Linked DNA regions of Homo sapiens: region 2 is linked to region 1. The links are contacts of gene promoters, found by promoter capture Hi-C in human tissues and cell types (Jung and others, 2019). All regions are on one chromosome and are shown on one strand. The core of a region is centred on a gene start or on the middle of the fragment in contact, and the rest is flanking DNA. Distances in the headings are between cores, read along the strand shown. Region 1 holds the start of TMEM212 (transmembrane protein 212). Region 2 overlaps TNIK (TRAF2 and NCK interacting kinase).

Region 1 (7,123 bases), core at 2,030-4,529:
GTGATGTAAAGTTTGATCACTTGGTTGAGGTGGCTGCCATATTTCTACTTGGTAGAAATATTCTTTTGCATTGTAATTTTTTTCTCCGTTTATCCAAAGGTTTTAACATCTATTGATGATCTTTGCTTTATTGCACTGATATTAACCGAGTGTTAATTTTTCTAATTTTTTCATTCCTTTTGTATGCATTAGATAGAATATTCAATATCTGGGTCTTTCTGACACCAAAGCTCATACTCTTTCTAGGACACGAGCTACCTTTTTAATACATAAACAAATAAAGCTAGTCATCTGAAGCTGCTAGGAAAAGAAAACATTTTAATTTCATCTCTCGTTTGGAGCTGCATTATCTTTTAACTTGGCAAAAATGAACTCCTTCCATAGCTTTGAAACCTACTTTAAAAATCCCAAGACTATAGCCCCCACAGAGCTGTTATTTTTAAGGCTCACATGTGAAGGAATGTATTTTAAAGAGGTAGAGAATGTTCATATCAGGTTCCCTCTCTCCGCATCACTGATGTTCTTCCACTTCTTTGAGTGTCTAATTTTGCTTGACTGATTTATTGATTGATGATTTCTTGTGTTTGGTGTGGAGGGGGGAACATTGGAATAAAAATGTCAATTTGGGCTTTCTGTTTGTTTTCAGTGGCAAAACTGGCTTGAAGTGTTTGGTGAAGCTACCGCCTTTTTCCCTGAGCCAAGATCCTGGGATCCCCTGGGTTGAGGAGAAGGTGGAGTCTGCAAAGCAGCCTACAGCGACCTTGACACCACCACCTCCTAGGAGAACTTGCAGGCCCAACTTGCAGTCAGTTAGTGCCACGTGGGATGACTAGAGGGAGCAGGGGCCCTATAAACCTTGCTGGCTGCCAGGACATGGGCACACAGACACGGCTGATCAGAGAGGAAGCCCAAGACAGAAGCAGTGACACTTTCTTTTCTTTCCTAGTAGCTGCTCTCACTGAAAATGTCCTTTTTTTAATGAAATTAGTGGGACTAGATTCCTGCGGGAAAACACACAGAGAGAAACCCTATTCTACCTCTCTTCCTTCTCTTTGTTATATTAAGTGGCAACAGCTCCTCTAATCACTAATAAATTCAGGTTTATAAGTCACAATAGCAGTGTCAGGGTTAGGCTGTGAGTGTTACAGGCACTTAAAAGGTCCTTCAAGTTAAAACAAAAAATACTCTCTTTGTTTGCCATCTTTGTACTGTTTAACATGAGTATTTCAACAGTCTTTATTTTCCAAACATGCAAACAGGAGAGAGTGATCTGACCCACAGCATATTGACATACCATCTAGCTATAACCTTGAGATAAAAAGTAAAGGAAAAAGTCAAAACAGCTCAAACCAAATACTAATACAAACAAGTCTTTCTTCACTCTCGACCCCTTCCCCCCCCATATCAGTGGAACAAACTAGCATCAACACTCATTGACGGTGGTGGATTCACATGGCTCTATACTTGTGCAGCTTCAGGGGGACAGGAGAGCCCAAATACAAAGGGGAAAGTTTAATGTATTAATCAACTAATTCAACAAATACTTATTACTATATGTATCTGCTCTGATGCAGACAAGGTTGTAGACGCTGGGAATATCTCATACATTTAAGGGATGTATAAGACTTGCAAGGTCTCTGCCCTTGTGAAATTTATCTAGTGGTGTTAGAAAAAAAAAATCAGAGAATATAGCCCACAGTGTTGAGAGGAGATAAGAAATAGCAGCTGTACCAGAAAGCATGAGTTGGTTTCCTGGATTCTGTATATCCAGGAATGCAACTGCTTCAAAATCTGGGTCAAACTGTGGAATGGCTATTAAAGACAGAAAGGCAGAAAGAAAAAAAGCAGAGAATCAGAGAGAAGCTTCTCTTTCCACCACATATGGGAGGGTCCTTTGGGAGTTTTTACCAAATTGTTCAGGAAGAGTTAAACATGATGTTTTTAAGGTGATGAATTTAAAAAAAAACCACAATAAGTGCACCTTTGTCCCACGATGGAAGGACCCCAAAGGTGGAACATCCCAATTTAACAAGAGTAACTTTCTGAACATCTTCGTTATGCTAAACTCTGGGCTAGGCATTTATGGTTTTAGCTCATTTAATCCTCTCAACCAAATCCATTAAAGATAAACACTAACTTTTATTCCCATTTCGCATACGAATAAATAGACCTAGAGAAGTTAAGTAACTTGCCCTTACTCAAGGACACAAACCTGGTAGAGAGTGGAACCAGAATCGGATCACAGCTCCATCTGACTCAAAATCGATGTCCTAAACCACTTCATTTGCATTCATAAAATTATTTTTCATCCTTTTATTTCAGTAAAAAGGAATAATGTATTAATGTTAAATAGGAAAATTATTCAGATGGCTTCAGAAACTGACCTGTGTTTTTAAGATATTTTTTTGAACAGACATCCACATATATCCAATCAGTCAAAATCAAATAACACCATTTTCTCAAATGCATGAAAAAGTAAGAGATGACTTGTAACTGCCTAAATGTACCTAAGTTCAATATCTCAAATTAGAATTATGATTCAAGAATGAATGGGGATCAGCATTTTATTCAACTGATGAATTGCTCCTCAAAGTTTATTTTATTTTATAACTGCATACATTTCCATCATCACACTTTAATTGAAAATTAAATTAATAGTAAAATAAGGTGAAACTGGTTTAGTGAAAACAATGCAAAACTCCATAATAAAGTTCATGCCCATTTGGGAATGAATCCATATCAAAAATCTTTATCAAAAATAATTGTAGTGGAATTAAACTTTGAAAGGAGGTGAAGGTCTTGCTTTGGGTTGAAATCATTTAAATTAAATATAATGAAAAGTGACCAGGGTGCTTATTTTTACTTTGTTTTGTGGGAAATTGTGCTGGGAATGTGGATCTATTGTACACAAAGGATGTTGGCTTTATGCTGGAACCACTAGGCAGGTTGAGTTGAGAAACAATTAGCTCAGTCAGCAAGCCTTTGAATCTGATTAAGCCAGGAAGTGGTCACTCCCCAGGACAGGGCAGAATGAAGGGAATCAAGGCAGCAATCCAAAGCAAGGGATAATTTTTTTCTCTCTTTCTCTTAAATAAATTGTTATTAGAATTTATTGTGTCAAATTTATGCCAAGGACTATTTGAGTACATTTCATCTTTGGTAAAACAAATAGAATCTTGTTTCCAAGTAGATCAACAGTTCGTATGTGTCGTGGCTACTGTCTCTAAGAAACTTCTATTTACTGAGGCCTGTCATACGCTCATGTTTTGGTAACAAAACATCTTTGAGACCAAGGCCTCAAGCCACCAAGGAAAATGAAGGGCCTCTACCAGGCTGCTGGCCGGATTCTTGTTACTCTGGGGATCCTCAGTGTATGCTCTGGAGTTATTGCTTTCTTTCCTGTCTTTTCTTACAAGCCTTGGTTCACAGGATGGAGTGTTCGAATTGCTTGTCCTATCTGGAATGGAGCTTTGGTATGAAAATAGTTTATTAAATATATTGAGAAAATAAAAGAAGGTGGGAGGGAAAGGGAAAACAGAAGAACATATCCTTTTAAATTGTTCTAACAATACAAAGAAGTCAAAATTCCACAAAAAATCAGAATCCGCCTTGGAACATTGATTTCTATTAATTGCATTTTAAGTATAAAAATGATCTTAATATTGTTTTATCATGTATACATGTATATTATGTATTTTTAATGACATGCTGCTCAAGAAATTCTTAAAAAGTTATTTTATTTTAATCCACTTAACTTGATATGCTAAGAAATTAGAATCTTTTGAAATGTGAATTTTGAATTTAGAAAAAAACATAAACCTTGAAAAGTAATTTTAAAATACAGAACAAAGTAAAATAATTTTCAAACTAATGCTTTCATTGCAAACACTAAGATGTACATGGCCCCAAAATTTACAAACCCCAAATATTTGTTTTTCCACCTTTCTCTTGCAAGCAACTGTTTGAACTGAAAATAACTCAATAATTTTCAATTATTTGAAAATAATTCAAATAATTCAATAATTCAAGATGGACTTCACAATTCACTAGGAAAGTACATGTGCCAAGTACAGCGTACGACACTAAGTAGTACTCCGTGTGCGCTCATTGAATCATTGCACAGATAAACGATTGGCCTGGTCCCTTAGCTCTCCAACCAAAAAAAAATGGGCACATCTAGTCTTGGGAGTAACTGGCTTCCATGCTGGTATGATTTAAGAGAAGTTACAGAGACCCACCTGTCCAACAAATCCTTCTCTCATTGATTCCTGTGACGCCTGACACTACTGGAGACTGGAGAATTCAATATTGAAGCTTTTTGATCTTAAGGAATCTTCTATTAAAATGTAGCCACTTGGCCGGGCATGGTGGCTCACGCTTGTAATCCCAGCACTTTGGGAAGCCAAGGGGAGCGGATCACGAGGTCAGGAGTTCGAGACCAGCCTGACCAACATGGCGAAACCCCGTCACTACTAAAAATACAAAAATTAGCTAGGCGTGGTGGCATGCACCTGTAATCCCAGCTACTCAGGAGACTGAGGCAGGAGAATCACATGAACCTGGGAGGCAGAGTTTGCAGTGAGCCGAGATCATACCACTGCACTCCAGCCTGGGTGACAGAGCAAGACTCCATCTCAAAACAAACAAACAAAATGTAGCCACTGTTGTGTGAGATAGTATCTTAAATCTTTAAAAAGTTAAAACTTTAACTGAGATACCACCTAAAAACTAGACCTCAGGAAATATAAATTTTAATCTACTTATTAGATAAATATTTATGAATAGCCCCCTATGTCGTTGAGTTACAATGAAGGATCCAACAAGGTCTTCATCTTAAAGGAACTTGGTCTAGTGGGGTTTGATGAATGTGTGCAGATAGACGGAAGCCAGTGGGATTATGGGAGAGTCGATGGAATGAGGAAACCACAGGGTTATCTTTCTCTTTCTCAGTTTTTTTTTCTTTTTCAATACATTCTTTTGCATCTATCACCCCAATCTTGATCTTCCCTTCTTTTCTCCAACACCTACCTGAAACCACAATTCATTCAAAGAAATATTTGTTTAAGTTCTACTGGAATGCAGAGATGGCAGTTACACTTATTCAAGTGGCTTCCAAACTTTTTTTTGGTGACTCAGAGTCAGAAAAATATTTTAGGTGAGGACCCAGAATGTACATAAATACATCTACATTCTTCTCTCTAGATAAATAGATATCTACATCTATTATGTATATACATGTATAGTAGATGTTTATATATCTATAAAACAAAAGTTGCTCAAAATAGTACTTACCCTCTATGTGAAACATATTCTGATATTTTCTATTTCATTTAATTTTTTTAAAAATTCTGATTTCACAAAGTTTAACAATATCATGATTAGAGTTCAACCCTACATTCTTTTGTTACAGCTGTTTGCCTATCCTTTCAGACTGCAACATAATACATTAAACAAATATTGGTGATTTTGATTAAGATTACAGATGATTGAATGTATTGTTCTAGGCCAAACATCTATTTTTACCAGTTAGGCCCGGAGAAATGATATGATGTGTCTCCAGCACATAGTTAATTGGTAACTGTTTGATTTCAGAGGTGGCAGCATCAGGAAATGGAGTCAGAGATAAAGGATTTAGAGAAGTGGACCTGTTTTCAAGTCCTGACTTTGATGTTCTTGGTAGGAGGTCAAAAGCAGGACCCTCAGCCAGCCAGTTCCTCATTCCCTTTATCTGTAAAATGGGGAATTTTACAGATAAAAAGAGCCCACGTGTAAAACTGTCCAACCCTAAGATGCACAGTGAGAAGGAACACAATTTAAACAAAGATTGTATAATAAAGAGCTTTGCCAATTTTAAAGCCCTCTTCAAATGCTAGTTAATACTATGCCTTTCATTTGTGCCCTACTCTCTGTTCAAGCCCTTTGTTCTTAATCCTGTGTCACCCACCTCACTTTCCTATCCTACTCCCTCGTAACCTGCTGAGTTCTCCATCCTGTTACTTCCTGGACTTCATCTCCTACCACTCTTCCCTTAGGTCACTTCTCTCCCATCACATTGGCTCCTTGCAGTTTTCAAACATGCCATGATGTGTTTCTGCCTCAGGGCCTTTGCACTACCTGCCCTCTGCCTAAAGCCTCTTCCTGAACTTGGCTCACTCCCTAGTCTCCTTCAATTCTTGATTAATTCTTTATCAAACAACACTTTTTTATGGAGGTTTGCTCCCATTACACTATTTAAAATTGTAATCCCCTGACCCCAACTGGTGTTCCCAATCTCTGATACCCTGCTCTATTTTTTCCTCATAACACTTATTAGCATATAAGACACTATATAATTTTTCAATTTATTGTTTGTATATTCCCCTCTCCTCTAACAAATGTATATTGTAGAAGGGCAGGGATTGTTTTTTCTATTATGTTTACTGCTGTATCTGAAGAACTTGGAACAAAGGGAATTACAAACTCTGTGTTCAATAAATATTGTTCAATAAGTATTGTTGAATGAGTGAATGAATCTCATACCCTCCGTTCTGTTGGTACAGAATTTCTTATACAGTTGAATACCAATTAGGTTGCAAAGACTAAAGGTCAGGGTGGTATTTATATTATACTAGTGCAGGAAAAAATCCTCATGAGAAGGAAAGTAATACAAATGCTCAGTCTTTCAATAATGTCTAAATTTGGACGAACGTTATGTTTTTTTACTAGTGAGTTTCCTACTGAACCACAGTTCTGTCTGATCAGGGTGAACTTCAAACAGTCTCTGACTCATTCCACAACCTCCCTTACCAATCACTTCTTAACTTGCCTCCAAAGTATGTCTTCCTCCAGTGACAAGATTTGTACATTTCAACCATATTAACATTTCCTTTTACAGATGACTCCATATTTCCTTGGGGACTTGTAAGAAAGAGATTTTTGTATATGATACAGTACTTTGAATTTGTTCAAAGTCTTTCATTCAAGACTCTCTAAGTACTTCATATAGATTGGTCCTCAGACTCCCTAGTTCCATTTTGACATTTATATGACAAGCAATTTTCCTAGAATTTTGGAGCTAGGTTATTTAAAAGCATCAGCTGCTAGCAAGTATTCAGTGAGGAGATCATAATACCATAAGGAATGA
Region 2 (7,123 bases), core at 1,679-4,178, 780 kb before region 1:
ATTTACAGTAATTATTTTCTCCAGAAACAAGCCACATTAGTTTTTGTCATTGGATTCCCCCCACTTCCAATTTTTTAAGAAGAAAAATTTGGTCAACTACTGTTTCGTTTTAAAAATGTTAAATGCACCTGAGATTGCCGGTTGAGCTCTCTATATGTCTCCTGGAGATAACACTGCTGTGATGAACAGTGAAACAAAAACAAACAAAACGAGGTAGGTTAAAACAGGAAGCGCAACACAGATATTGTTTGCAACACCTCGATACCACAGGCGGCCATGCTTGTAGCTTTGGAAAAAAAAAATCCCAGTCGCATAAAAGTTCAAATCATTTGAGTAAGAGTTTATAAGGACACAAGTCAACCTGAACTAAATACATACATACTTCTGCACAAATGTTGTTTACCGTATGTTGGGTAATTTGGAGGAAGGTAAAGTGATTAGGGTCTCAAAATTTTGTCCAAAGCCTTGCTTTCAAGTTCTCTAAAATTGGAGCCAATGATGCCTCTTGTATCTGAGGCAGGCTTAGGAGTCTAGTCCCTTCTCTCACCCACACAGGGAGAACACAGGCAGCTCAGAAACATTTATTATTAATTTTTTCAGTCACAGTTTTCATCTTGAGAAAGTGGCACCCTCGGGAGAGCGCTGGGAATGTTCAGAGCCTGAATATCATCCACTCTCCAAGTCCCAGAAAGAACTCAACAAAGTCTCAGTCCTAATGAAGCCCAAACCAAGTGACCTCTTAGCTGGGAGGCTTTGTGCATTTTAAAAAAGACTATGTAAGCTTGTTTCCCAGAAGCTCTTTCTGTCTGACCCCATCTGTCATCCCATCTTTTTCCCTGATCTGTTGCATAATAGCTGAGGGAAAGTTGTGTTAGAGTGTCCCTCCATCGCTAGGCCAGCTCAACTCAATGGCGTTAGTATCCTGTTCAACACACTCCATTCTGTAAAGGGCCATATAAAAATGTGGCCTGTCAGATTCACAAAAGTGGTAGTTGATTTTATTAGACTAGTAGTTTTAAGGCTAGTAGTTTAGCCATTTAAAATCTATTTCCCAAAAGAGGGGAAAACTAGTATTTTTCTTCTCTTTTTAAAAATTCATTAGCCAGTTGCTATCAAAAAGCAACCTTTTGGGTTGGTGAAGGCAAGAGAGTTCTTAAATTACTCCACTATGTAGTTATGGCCTTCAGCCTAAGGAGATAAGGTACATTTATTGTGCTGTCTCTCATCATTGGAAATTTTACAACATACCATATACTTAAAACTAGTAGGCAGACAGAATTTAAAAGACTCATTTTCGCAGTATGCATTCTTTCCCCATTCTTGCAGAGTAAAGGGGTAAAGAAAAAAGGTAAAAACCTGAAAACCCACCATAACACAGCTTAATCGTTAAGAGCACACAATATTTGTTTCTATCCCTAATTCCGAAGGGCACATGGTCCATCTTTGTCCACAGACAAGGCAGCATTCTTGGGGATCTCCTGGAAATTCCTGCCACCTTTTTCTCTCCTTCTCAACCAGGCTGCAACATTGAAAGATGGACTGTACTGGGAGGGGCGGAGGGAGAGGAAAAAGGGAAAGCGATATGTTCAACCAAGCCTTCTGATTCTGCCTCTAGACTGGCATAAGTCCACATGAGTTATGTTCTTTTAAATTAGAAATAACGCCATGAAGATAAGTGCCAAGTGCTCTTCTGTTACCAGTTCATCATGGAATTTCTGTTGAGGGTCATGAAAAACACTTGGCTACTTCCTCCAGATCGCACGGATGCAAAAAATACCTGTTTGAAATTAAAAAGAAGTTAGTTCAACTGCATGGTCTTTTCCCCTCTTTTCTTCAACCGTCCATCCATTTTCTCTCACATGTCCTATCCTTGCCATGTGTCAGGTCTTAAGACTCAATGGCTTGTGTTTATAAAGTCCCTTTGGATATCGTGCATCCTATGTAAAAACTCCTGCCTTTATTCCTAGGTTGTTATTATTCCTTATTGTGGTATTGGTCTCCAGAGATGCTGAAGGGGCTATATCTTCATTTGTAACATCTCTTTGGGTGTTCACTTTTTAAAAGGGAGTTTCATGCTAGGATAACGTGCTGGATTTCTGGTCTAGGACCCAACAGGTTCTTTGTTAATTTCTAGAAAGGCACAGAAGCTTCCCTTCTCTCACCCTTAAATGACAAGAAAGTAGACTTCAGGATGGAAGGGAATCCCTTCAAATTCTCAAAGTCAAGGGGGAGTTTTAGGCCTACTGACTATCATACAGTTTCAGATTTCAGTTTTTTAAATTTAAGATAAAAACATTAAATAGTGTGGTCAGATAGGGCAAGGTATTTAATGCCTACTCATTTTGGCATTTCAAGAGTTAACGCATGGTTTCTCTGCTGATGGTGGCATATCCCAGGGCAAATGAGATCATAGCATTAATGAGGAGAACCACAGTCCATTAGGTCTGAGTCTGTTAAGTCATTTTATCAAACAACTGACAAACGTGAGAAAAATTTGGGTTACTGCTTGCTTGAGCTGAATGTTTAATGTTAAAGAACCACTGCCCCAGGAAAGTAATATTTTGGGCTATGGCCTAGCCCTTCAGTCAGTCAATACCTAACTTTTGTTAGGTAGTTGCTTTTGTCACTAGTCTAAAGTCTCTGCTACTTCATTTCTACAGCTTCTTCAGAAGAATGCTAACAACAACTTCTTAGGGAGGTCTCTGGAAATGCTTGACATTCACCTAATGCTGCATATGAAAGTAATGCTACTCTTAGGGTCAATGAATCAAAACGGAGAAGGACAGAGAGGGCCTATGGAAAACCACAATGAAGAAAAGAAAGGGCTGCTCTTCCCTCCAAGTTGTGTGCCCCTGGCTGTAAACCTTGGGTTGCAGACAACTGGTGTGGCCCCAGCCTACTCCTAAGGGTGTGGCATGGCTTGGAACAGCCCTGCTGGGGTAGGTTTTCAATCGGAATGTGGGTATCCATACCCAGATCACTCCTGGTTTTTTGATTCTTAGAGACTGGGTGGGAGCTGGAGTTTTACTAGGTTATGTTTGTTTTCTGGGAAATCTAAATGGCTGGAACCATCTTTGCCACCTGCAGCTACTGTCCACCCAGACCACATCAGGTCAGAGTAGTGGGCCAGGGTTGAATATAGTTTAGGCCCACATCACCAGGTTTGGACTAAGACCAACCTGACCTTTGGGGAACTGGGGTGGACAAAGGGATATACAAAAATTCAACCCATCATACTGTTTTTCTATAGGCGTTTATGTCTGTGGCTTTGGGGACAGCATTTCTATGTTGGCCACAGCCACAAAGGATGAATTCACAAATGCAGTATGGCTTAGCTACTAAAACCTCGGGGTTACTCTACAGGGAGGGTAAGGGAGAAGCAGTACTGCTGCAGAATACCCCTCTGAGGTCACTGATCATGCCAGACGGACACAGCCAATTTCACTGGAAAACAGTTCACCTATGACATTTCAGAAGAAACATGGCTGGAATGACACAAGACATGGCACTAGTTGAGTTTGTGATTGTGCATTCCTTAAGGAATGGGTGACATTTTTAAAAAGCTTATATTTCTAAACGTCAAATGTTTTGGATTTAAAGGTGAATATAAGGTGATTGGTTAGGTCTTGAAAGTGACTTTGTGAAAAGTCTAAAAGTGGAAGTATAAAGTTGACCCACTGTGAGATGATTAATGATGGGCCAACTGCTCTAAGTGCTTAGGAGAATTTGGGGTGTCTGCTGAGTCATCAAAAGGCCTTTAGGCCACAAAGGTTTCTAAGAGGTTTACAAGAAATTTCTAAATGTTTTTATGTAGTTTTTGACATGTGAATAATATATTGAGTGCTCACATGGATCAAACCAAATAATGCCATTTCAAGATAATATTGATTGTTTAACACAGATGTGATTCAAATCAGTATAAAGGAAAATGAAGGTTTCACAGGTACCTGGTGGTCTCTTAAAATGCAAACACTAATGCAAATGTTGAAACGGATTTACCTTATCATTTCTTTCACATAGAAACTTTAACCTTTGAGCTCGCTTATGCATAAATACTCCATCCAAATGTCCTGTTTCCACTGACCGGATCTCAATAGCTTTCTCGCCCCAGCCCATTATCTGATTGGAATGAATGTAGGCTGTCAAAAGGAATTTCCAAAACTGCATTAAAAACATTAGATGGGCAATAACTCACAGCATCTGTTCACATCTTAACCACAAAAATGACAAACGACTTGAGATAAATGGACAAAGCAAGTCTTACAAGAGTTATTCACAGATTTTTTTTTTTTTTTTTTTGTGGAATCAAATGGTTGTTTCACATTTCTTGATTTTCGTTTCATTTGGGGGGTGTAACTGCTGAAGGAGATAAGGAATGGTTAACCTACCCACAGACGTGGGCATTTCTCCCCATTGGAGCACCACATCCTTAGTTATCCGGCCATAGGTGTTTACATACACCCCCTCATCCTCATAGCAAACAAGCATTTCCATTCCATCTGTTTTAGGCAAGATGACAATAGCATGAGGAGTGATATTGCCCTGAATCTAGAAGACAAAGAAAAGCCAAGCATTATTCTTTTAAAAAATAAAACACCTTGACTATTCATCTCTAACAACTGCAAAAAAGAGGTTTTTGTTTATTTTCATTGTCACCCTAAAGACTGAAATTTGCTTTAATTTAACCACTGACTTGTAAAATACCCTGGTAAATCAAACTTAGTCACTAGATTAAAAATTCAATTTACCTGTTCCTAAAAAGAGCATGTAAATCTATGGCACACCTACTATGTGCCAGTCATGGGGCCCTTTACATATATAATTTCTAGTACCTACAATAGCTCCCCAAGGTAGATAGCTTTGTTTACAGATGAGGAAACTGCATCTCAGAAGGGCTTTGTGTCTTAACCAAAGTTGTGCTAGTATTTGTTGGTAGAGTTGGGATTTGTGTATATCTTGCTGACGTTGAAATTAATGTGTTTTCTATTAGCACAACCACTTCCAAAAGAAGATGAGGAGAATGTAAGCCAGCTGAATCTAATGGAGATAGCTTAAGTGGGGTCAAAATGAACTACCAAAATAATCTGTGAAAAAAAAATATATATATAGGATTGTTTATCCGGGTGTCTAAATGCCAGAATAATTCATGGCTTGGTTAGAAAAAATATTTAGAATGACCACTCATTAAAAAAAATCATTATTGCCGCACACAGTGGCTCATGCCTGTAATCCCAGCACTTTGGGAGGCCGAGGCGGGCGGATCACGACGTCAGGAGATCGAGACCATCCTGGCTAACACGATGAAACCCCGTCTCTACTAAAAATACAAAAAATTAGCCGGGCATGATGGTGGGCACCTGTAGTCCCAGCTACTCGGGAGGCTGAGGCAGGAGAATGGTGTGAACCCAGGAGAGGCGGAGCTTGCAGTGAGCCGAGATCACGCCACTGTACTCCAGCTTGGGTGACAGAGCGAGACTCCGTATCCAAAAAAAAAAAAAAAAAAATCACTATTGAAATAAGTGTATATTAATTTGTTCTAGGAAAGGAAATGTGATGTTGTTGTGATCCCCTAGTTGAGAATGCCATGGCAGCCCAACATGTGCTTGACAGATTGGACTAAGAGAGTTGAGGATTATCATAGTTACACCTTAGCTGCCTCACCAGGAATGTGAGCTGTGAGTCCTTGTGTTCACCCACATCCACATGAGTTAAAAGTGGTAATAATGCAGCAATGAATGGCAGTCGTGTGTGTGTATGTAATATACTGAAACAACTTCTTTTAGTTATTGCGTTTCATTAGAATAAAGTCTTAAAACTCTCAAAATACCAGTCAGCGGTAGCTTCAAACATTCCTGATAAATAGTTTCTCCTGTGTGTTAGTCTTGGGATTACACACAGGACACACACTTTACACTACACTTAATCCTAATAAGTGAATCCATGTGCAGCATTTCCCTTTAACAGTTATGTTTCAAGCAATATGTCAGGATAGTAATATGAATATTTTAGGGCTAATAAGAAGATCTACAATTTGCAGGGCCCTGTACCAACTGCTTTAGATCCATTACCTCATTTAATACTAATGATAATCCTATGGGATAAGTCTTTTTATCCATATTTTACAGATGCGAAAGCTGAGGATTGGAGAGGCTGCCTACTGTGTCCATTACTGCAAAGCTAATACATGCTAGAGCCACTGTGTCTGACTCCAGTGTACCACACTGCCCTCAAGCTGAAGAGAGGAACTAAAAATAGCAAAAAAAGAATTTTCTCCAATAAATTAGTACCTGACCATTGGCTTTCTCTAACATAAAATGAACGAATTTCCCTTCAAAAACTGAATGTGGAAACTTGTCTACCGAATATAATTCATGCCCTTGAAAGAAATATGTCATATTCATTTTAATCTAAAGTCCAAAGAGACAACATGTAAATGCCAAATGATTTCTATTATGTATTCCCCAATTTTAGGAAGTCATAAAAATTAGTTAAATTTATATATTTTAGTTATTAAAAGCAGTATACTTAATGAAGAACGAAAGTCCATTTGCTGGTTAGTAAAGTGTGCATGACTTCTACTAAAACTATGCAAAACAAATCTCTTTCTACATGCAGGCTGTTGTACAGAGAGCCCTTGAAAGTCTACTTCTGAGTACTTACATGAGATGGTATGTAGATATCATAAGAGTTTCCTGAATCAACATCAATTACATGGAAACCAGTGTGTGAACCAAAAATAACCTTTAATCTTTGACCTTCTTCTACCGTGAGATCAACTAGCAGAGGCTTGTGCTGGAGATCTGCAAAAGACTTTAAAAATCACCCCATTAGTATCCGCATCACTCAAAGAGGCATCTTAATTTTTTTCCTTTAGCCACTGTCTAGAGGAAGTTAACTTCTAACTTTATTAAAGTGAAAAACTAGAAAATTTCTCTTTCAGTTTTAGGTCTGTTGATATTCTGGCCCTAGGAGGAAGGGTCTAGCATCCATTTGTGCCCCTTTCTCTACCCTTTGTCCTTCGGGGCAGTGAAGTTTAAGTTGGTGCACAGGTGTAAATTTTGATAGTGGTAATGTATATTAAAAACCTGGTGCCTGGGTATTGCTGTTTTTTCCTGTTTATTTC

The links. The method cuts DNA at HindIII sites, captures the fragments that hold promoters and counts their contacts. A contact is called where the count stands out against the background at its distance.
Region 2: a contact is called between a fragment that was not itself captured here and the fragment with the promoter of TMEM212 in region 1, in 1 of the 25 tissues and cell types used here (H1 embryonic stem cells).

The regions. Positions count from the first base shown.
Region 1 is chr3:171,840,070-171,847,192 of GRCh38, forward strand. It overlaps TMEM212 (transmembrane protein 212), which reads left to right and starts at 3,280. Exons shown (of 5, transcript NM_001164436.2): 1 at 3,280-3,473. The coding sequence starts at 3,315. The HindIII fragment of the contact is 5,921 bases long and covers 3,089-7,123 here.
Region 2 is chr3:171,062,188-171,069,310 of GRCh38, forward strand. It overlaps TNIK (TRAF2 and NCK interacting kinase), which reads right to left. Exons shown (of 33, transcript NM_015028.4): 30 at 6,661-6,810; 31 at 4,389-4,548; 32 at 4,000-4,139; 33 at 1-1,777. The coding sequence ends at 1,694. Among named protein-coding and RNA genes, the nearest start is that of SLC2A2, 39 kb to the left of the region's middle. RefSeq lists an enhancer at 1-61 and a silencer at 6,559-6,759. The HindIII fragment of the contact is 5,608 bases long and covers 125-5,732 here.